2 separate regions of the Homo sapiens genome follow, and region 2 is linked to region 1. The links are contacts of gene promoters, found by promoter capture Hi-C in blood cells and fetal thymus (Javierre and others, 2016). All regions are on one chromosome and are shown on one strand. The core of a region is centred on a gene start or on the middle of the fragment in contact, and the rest is flanking DNA. Distances in the headings are between cores, read along the strand shown. Region 1 holds the start of PMAIP1 (phorbol-12-myristate-13-acetate-induced protein 1). Region 2 has its middle 180 kb from the start of MC4R.

Region 1 (4,110 bases), core at 645-3,144:
TTGGAATTGAGTTATTCTAACTGAATATTAAGAAAAATGATGCTTATAATTTCCAAGTACACTTTTTTTCAGTAAGTGCAGTTAACACTATACTGACTATAATATCGTATCTATACTGACTATAATTTCAATTTTCTTGAATATTTCAAAGAGCAGCTTGAGGTCTTTCGGGTACACTTCATGATTACAAACATTAAAAAATCATGATTACAAATTAAAATCTGGTCTATTTTATAAATCGACCCTGAAAATACCGTATTTAGGCTCAAAATAAATCAAAGCTGTCAATATATAGTAAAGCAAAATCTTAAACCTATATTTCAACCAATTTCTCTCTACAAGAAGTGAGTGAAATCTTTCCTAACTCCTACACCAAGAGACCTAATAAATCCCTTAAGGTGTTATTCTTTATGGGCTACAAGATCAAATATGTTGGGAAGTATTTACATAGACATGTTGTCTACAGAGATTGAGATATATTAATATACAGTTCTAAAAGAAAAACCAAATACCATTCAGCGTCCGACACTGGAAGCCCTGAATTCTAAGTGGAAAAGTTATCCCTTTCACCAAAAATGTAGAAAACAAGGCAGAAAATACTTCCCGGTCATTTCCTTAATTTTTTAAAAATTGCATTACACACCTATAAATGTATTAGTATCAATCAAATCAAGTTTAAGAGGGACTTTGTGCTGCTTCCTGTTCTTGGGAATTAAGTCGGACCAGAAAGTGCTATGCATAAGTAAGATCCTTCAGAAAGAAACAAGGTCAGAATCCTAAGACATCACAAAAGGTAGACAAAGCTTTTTCCATCCCACACAAGCGCCAGAGACAGCAGCCTGTTACCAACTTAGGCATGGTCACATTTGCAATGCACCACTTCCTTCGCACGCCCCAGGAGCTCTATAAAATGAAAGTAACTTAAAAGGTGGGGGGGGCGTATAATCGTCTGATGCAACAGCAGTATGGCCCACACAGACTTCGGGCTCTGGGCAGTGACTGGGTTCTCTGTTTAGATTTAGAAAAAGCATGGGGCCGGGGCGCTGGCCTGAAAACTTACGATGGAGCTGTATGTATCGGGGTGGGGAGTGCGAATGAATGAATGAAAAAAAGGAGCGGACTAACTCCTATTCTCCTATCCCCACCTCCCACAATATCGATTATTTAAATGTTACAAGATTTTCTAGGCTCCTGAACACAGGGGCCCTTGTGGGGCCGTCTCTGGAAGCGCTGGGAGTCCAGGCGGTCCCCGGGGCTCTCTCCTGCCCCTTCTGCCGCGACAATGACTTTCTCCTAGAGACAGCCGCCTACACTTGCACTTGTTCCTCGTGGCCCCGGGGAAGGGCAAGTGGCGAGGAGGAAAGAGAGGAGGAAAGGAGCTTTTTGCCCCTGGTGAAACGCAGCTGCATCCCAATCGCAAATCCGGCTTGGTCCCTCGCCGTACCCGCCGTACCCGCCGGTCCTGGGGAAAAACCCCGAAGAACTTTCTGGAGGCGCCCCTAAGGCTCGCGCCAGGGCACAGACCTGGCCCGACCTTGACCCCCGTGCAGTCTGTGCTTGAGCCCCGGCGAGCTGAGCCCGCCCCAGCCGAGACCTCGACCCCGGCCCCGACCCCGCCCGGCCTGGGTCTTCGCTGGCCCCAGCGGGTCGGTACCTGCTGGAGCCCGCGCGGGGCTCGGTTGAGCGTTCTTGCGCGCCTTCTTCCCAGGCATCTCCGCCGGTGCCGCCGCCCACTCAGCTACAGAGCCCGGGAACCTCAGCCTCCAACTGGAGCACCTCGGACAGCTGCAGGACGCGAGCTGAACACGAACAGTCCTGCAGGCAGGGATGCTGGGATCGGGTGTCCGGACGCGCGGAGATGCCAACTACACACGGTGAGTGCCCGGGAAACTCTGAGATCCCCGCGCCAGAGACCACGCTTTTGTCCAGTGAGAACTTCCCTGGTGACGTAGGGAAACTAGACGCCCGGCCCGCCCCTGTCCCCGCCCCTGTCCCCGCCCCGCAGACGGCGTTATGGGAGCGGACGCGGGACGCGGGCGGGGAAGTACCCCGCTGAGCGCGACCTGCCCGGACACGCTCCCGACCCGCGGCGGCGCCGACCCGCGGCGGGGGGCGCAGAGCGCTCGGCCCCGAAATTACTTCCTTACAAAACGAGGTGGGAGGAGAAGGGGGTCGGCTTTGACCATCTGCAAACGCTGGACGTCGTCAGCGGCAGTGGTGGCGGGAGCTGGGAGTGGCGGGAGCTGGGAGTGGCGGGAGGGGAAGGGTTTAACCAGGAGGAACGTTGTGGGTGGGGAGAGACCAGAGGCCTTGGCAATTAGAGACTTGGGTAAACAAGCCCAGAAAAGAGATTGGAAAAGGAAACTTTTCGAACTTGAAGAGTATGGGCAGTAACAGGGAAGGGAAATGAGAAGAACCTTAATCACCGCAGAGGAGATGCCAGAGGCCCTGTGAGAAAGCTCCGGGTCCCAGGAAGTCACTGCAAACAGAAGCCCTGGTGCCAGCCAGAAAGAACATCGTGTTTGAGTTGGGAAGGGATTTGTGTGTGTCCTTCCAGATAGGTCGATATCGCCCATTGTGGATGTTTAGCAAAAACGAGTGGATCGTTATCATATGGAAAACGTTCAAATCTTTTGTGGGAGGGCTGAGCTACCTGGGAACGTGAAATTATTTGCATAATGTTTGGCGAGGCCATGAGTAATTCTACTATTATGAAGAGGAGTAATTAGGAGTGGTTAACGGTTACTGAGAGCCGCTTCATGCTAAGGACTTTGACATGCATTTTCTCATTCCGTCCTCAGAACAACCGTTGCTACTTTACGGGTGCAGAAACTGAGGTTTGTAGAAAATTGCCCAAGTTCACTTAGGCAGAGAGCACTGCCCTGATTCCGAACCAGGCAGGCCCACAGAGAGCAAGAGCTCTTACCCACTGTAGCCTTCCCAGCAATCAGTTTCTTAGAAAATGTGTGTTTTCGCCGAACGCGGTGGCTCACGCCTGTAATCCCAGCTCTTTGGGAGGCCGAGGCGGGTGGTTCGTTTGAGGCCAGGAGTTCGAGACCAGCCTTGCCAATATGGTGAAACCCCGTCTCTACTGAAATACAAAAGATTAGCCGGCCTTGGTGGTGCACGCCTGTCGTCCCAGTTGCTTGGGCGGCTGAGGCACGAGAATCGCTTGAACCTGGGAGGCGGAGGTTGCAGTGAGCCGAGATCGCGCCACTGCATTCCAGCCTGGGTGACGGAATAAGACTCTGTCTCAAAAAAGAAAAAGAAAAAAAAAGCGTGTTTTCATATTAGCTGTGCTGTTTAATGAAAAGATTGCAAATTCGTTGCATGGGCTCCCTAGAAGTGCTTAGTTTGGTTTACAGTATTGGCCTTCAAAATGTATTGTAAAAATTTGAATTGATTACCAACATTTTAAACATTGAGGGATTGCATGAAAAACCCAGATTCCAGCATCTCTTGGAAAACCAGAATCTCTGACAACGTGGGATCCATTTTCCAAAAGTGCAAACTAGGTTTGAAGTGTGGTCGAAGCCACACCCTTTAGAGGAACCTAGGGTGCTCCTGTTCACCACACTCCCCGCTGTTTGCTTTTCCCATTTACATTATCTGGCCTCAGTAGGCATTTGAGGTTGTTTATTTATCTTAAATCATTCAGTCAACACAAACCAGCAAGTATTTATTTATGGCTTGGTCCTGCTGAAGGTATGGACAACAATATAAGCATGGAACAAAACTGCTCTTGAGTTTAAACAACATAGTTTCGAGGCTGATGTTGGCTGTTTTTGAATGGGGTATATACAAACGAGTAAAAGTGGACAGAATTTAGGAATCATCACAAGACGCAGGAAGCACACTGGAGATGCTGCCTTGAAATCTATTATCCCCAAGTGGTAATTCAAAACCACTCCAGGCTCATTTTGACTTACCTAATACATAAGGAACACCGTTAACTTTTTGGTTGCATAAATTATTAAATTTCTGTCGTTCAAATACGCACCCTGAAATGCAGAGAATATACTCAACAACCACCAAAAAAAAAAAAAAAAAGTGAATCACAACATTGTTTACCTATAAAAGGTATGTTAATCCCATCCTCTAACATTTTCA
Region 2 (4,110 bases), core at 669-3,168, 650 kb before region 1:
TTGATGCCTTTGGGATCTGTTTTTAAAGCTTTGGTAGGGCAGGTTTAGAGTAGCCATCGTTCTAAATATAATCAACACTATAACTAAATACTAAATGATCACTATGTATTCTCCACTTCAGCTGGTGGGACCTCAAATATTTCTCTACCCTGTGTGAGTTCTTTGTCTATCCTGGTGCAGTTTCAAGTTACGTATGTATGGCCTACTACTCCCAGAGAATTTATGCAGATTTCTTTATTTTTTTTTTCTGCTGAGCACCTCACTCTATCGTGAGACTCCTTGTCAAGATTTCTAGCTACCTCAGCTTCCCCAAACACTAATTTCCTTCTCTTTTATTTAGTGAAGTTTCTGAGCAATGTTTAAGTGCTTTCTTCCTATGTCTGCAATTCAGATCACCTCTAAGCAGGAAACCAAGCAAACCATAGGCTCACATTGCTTCCATTTTCTCCACAGTAATAGTCTGCACTTGCTTTTGTTAAATATGTATGTGGTTTCACATATTGTATCTTTACTTTTATTAATTTATATGTACAAGGTAAATAAAATATTTGATAATCTTTCATGGACAAAAGAATAAGTATTCAGGGTTAGATTTATACTTTAAAAAATTTTGAGAGTCATGTTATATTAGATTCCAATGGGAGAAATCTGATACTTTCACTTTCAGAGTATTTAATTAGTTCAACTCTTCAAAAAGCAGTAAATGAGACCGGGTGCCATGGCTCACGCCTGTAATCCCAGCACTTTGGGAGGCCAATGTGGGCACATCACAAGGTCAGGAGTTCAAGACCAGCTTGACCCATATGGTGAAACCCTGTGTCTACTAAAAATACAAAAATTAGCTGGGCATAGTGGCATGCACCTGTAGTCCCAGCTACTCTGGAGGTTGACACAGGAGAATCACTTGAACCTGGGAGTCGGAGGTTACAGTGAGCCGAGATCACACCACTGCACTCCAGCCTTGGAGACAGAGTGAGAGACTCCATGTCAAAAAAAAAAAAAAAAAAAAAAGGCAGTAAATGTTGGCATTTGTTTTTTTCTTTCCTTTTTAAAATCTATATGTCTCCAAAGAATTATTAAATGTTAAATCCAATGGTAAAATATTAAAAATAACAACCATTTATAATCTTAAGTTTTCCTCATATCGGTGTCCACTGCTTCCTGGCTTTTATCCTGTGGAGCAGAGAATAACAAAAATTATACTGAAATAATTCCACACTAATAGTCCTGATGTAACACTGAGTATTTCTATCTCCTCATCTCAGAATTGTCTTCTAACAGCATCCAATCTAAAGTGCCTACTCCCAACTATCCTAACCCCATCATTCTCTGTCATGCCACTATGTTTGAACTCCTCAGGACACTCAAAAGTATTGGAAAGTACAAAATCAATTTCATTCTTGATCTGTTGATTGTCTGGACACCCCCCTCTCACCTCCCCATGAGAGCTATGATGTTCTAAGCTTATTCACTTCTGTGGCTCCAGTTCCCAGAGAAGCAGTGATATATATTAAGCACTTAATAATAATAATCTGGAGTGAATCCATTATCTCTTTTTGTTTTCCTAAATTCATTTACGCCTCTGAACTGCTTCTGTAAGAATTGAAGGTTTTGCTATGAAAACAATGTCTCTAAAGCTGAGAAAAAAGTCTCACATCTAATGGAAACTGTTGATACATATAGATTCGGCCACAATGAAAATTCACCAAGTTCGGAACTAACTGAATTGGTTTTGCTTAACATGTCTCTTAATCACACATCAAAATCCTTTAAAATCAAAATATTTGAAGTACATTTGTTGTTAAAAAAATGGAGTCTGTCAAATGAAACAGCTATGTCACTTTTACTAGGAGAAATCATCCAGAAAAGAATGGTATTTCTAAATAGATTAAGATATTAAGTAATGAGTACTAATAGCAGCTGGCAACTGGAGAGTGACTTGGTTTCAGAGAGAAAGATTTTAATATCAGAGGAACCTTTCTGAAAATCTAGTTCCATTAGTTCTAAGCACATGACAAACTTTAGAGATTACATTTTTAAAGAAGAGAACTCCAATTGTTTTTGTAATTCAAATGCAGTTTTGGAAATATCTAAATAATATTTAAATGTAATGTATACACCTTAAAATTTTTCCAGGACCCTATTTATGACATTCATTTTCTTAGGAGACCAGAAAATATATTTATTTTAAAAGTATTACATATTCAGATTTACATAATTTAGATTAAAAGATTATATAACTACTTTTTTATTTTGAGAACAGTCATAAATCTAAGAACAATTTTGCCTTCTTCGTTTCAAATGCTGGAATTCTGCACAGAGAATGAGCCATAGAGGGCGCTATTGTATTTACAATCCTGTGTAAGAAGCTTACAGATGATGAAATTCAAGAAATTAACTCAGTAGAATCAGTTGCTTTCACTTTGTTTACTAGACTAGAAAAATCAAGTGTTTTTTGACAATTTGATATTCAAAACACTGTTTTTTCCTCTTACAGTGTATTTTAGGAAAATCAGATTATCACTTTTAAAGGGATTTTTTTTAACAGGATAGTGAAATAATAAAATTATTTTGTCATGAGAAAACCTGAAATCCACTTCCTTAGAAATTTTTAAGAATGAAATATGTTATTATTGCTACAGTCACCATGTTGTACAACAGGACTTTTGAATTTATTCCTCCCGTCTGAAATTTTGTACCCTTTGATCAACACATTCAAATCTCCCCTCTTTTTTTTTTTTTTTTTTTTTTTGAGACAGTCTCACTCTGTCTCCCAGGCTGAAGTGCAGTGGCGCGATCTCGGCTCACTGCAACCTCCGCCTCCCAGGTTCAAGCGATTCTCCTGCCTCAGCCTCCCGAGTAGCTGGGATTACAGGAGCATGTCACCACGCCCAGCTAATGTTTGTATTTTTAGTAGAGATGGGTTTCACCATGTTGGCCAGGATAGTCTTGATCTCTTGACCTCTTGATCTGCCTGCCTCGGCCTCCCGAAGTGCTCAGATTACAGGCGTGAGGCCTGCGCCCGGCACTCCCCTCTCTTTTTGAAGCCACTGATAACCACCATTCCATTATCTGCTTCTATGCCTTTTTAAGGTGAAAAATGATAGGCATGTGCAGTAACGCATATGTTAATTAGCTTGATTTAGCCATTTCACAATGTATTTATATTTTTAAACATGTTGTAAATAATATATATAATTTTTATTTGTCAACTAGAAAATAATAAAAACTGTATAAAAAACAAATTATTAACACAATCAGTAGGCGAGATTTATAAAGAGTTTGGTGATATACATTTTTCCATTCTGGGGATGGCATGTATTGGCCTCAATTTGTTCATAATACTCATTTTTTGATGCAGATATTTGAAATCTAGTGTCCTCCTTTGAATGAGATGAGTGTTCTTAACTCTGTTCCTTCTCAAGTCAAAATTCTACCAAACTATTAATATTCAGCACAAATTCCCAATCGCTCCCAGTCATCTGGTACCTATAAACTACAGCTTCTCTCTTGCTCCACTGAAATCAATCATTTCTCTTTTATTTCTCCCACAGAGCATGTTCTATCATCCTCTACAGTTATTTGTGAGGATGTGTCAACCTCTTGCCAGACACCTGAGAGCTACACTCATGTAGGCTAAGTCCAAAAGCCCCAGAACCCAGACCAGTTTTTCTTTATCTCAGGCTTAGGTAAAATCCCTTCCCTTGGGAGACCGAGGCCGGCGGATCACGAGGTCAGGAGATCAAGACTATCCTGGCCAACATGGTGAAACCCCGTCTCTACTGAAAATACAAAAATTAGCTGGGCGTGGTGGCACTTGCCTGTAGTCCCAGCTACTCGGGAGGCTGAGGCAGGAGAATCGCTTGAACCAGGGAGTCAGAGGGTGCAGTGAGCCGAGATCACGCCATTGAGCCACTGCACTCCAGCCTGGCGACAGAGTGAGACTCCGTCTAAAAAATGGAAAAAAAAAAAAAATCCCTTCCCAATCAAAGGCACAAGCCCAGGAGGAAATAGACACACTTAGTAAAGTGGAACAGGAACAGAATTCGTACATTTCTGTTTTTGGCACCCCTTACTCTTCCTCTGTGATCACACCTGGTGACAGTCTCT

What was found. Contacts are between HindIII fragments. The CHiCAGO score rates a contact against its expected background, and 5 or more counts as called.
Region 2: a contact is called between a fragment that was not itself captured here and the fragment with the promoter of PMAIP1 in region 1, in 8 of 17 cell types (M0 macrophages, megakaryocytes, fetal thymus and 5 more). The highest score is 17.2, in M0 macrophages.

The regions. Positions count from the first base shown.
Region 1 is chr18:59,897,780-59,901,889 of GRCh38, reverse strand. PMAIP1 (phorbol-12-myristate-13-acetate-induced protein 1) reads right to left here and starts at 1,894. Exons shown (of 2, transcript NM_021127.3): 1 at 1,655-1,894. The coding sequence starts at 1,712. RefSeq lists silencers at 1,528-1,737, 1,888-2,297 and an enhancer at 2,054-2,805. The HindIII fragment of the contact is 10,069 bases long and covers 806-4,110 here.
Region 2 is chr18:60,547,772-60,551,881 of GRCh38, reverse strand. No RefSeq gene overlaps it. Among named protein-coding and RNA genes, the nearest start is that of MC4R, 180 kb to the right of the region's middle. The HindIII fragment of the contact is 906 bases long and covers 1,466-2,371 here.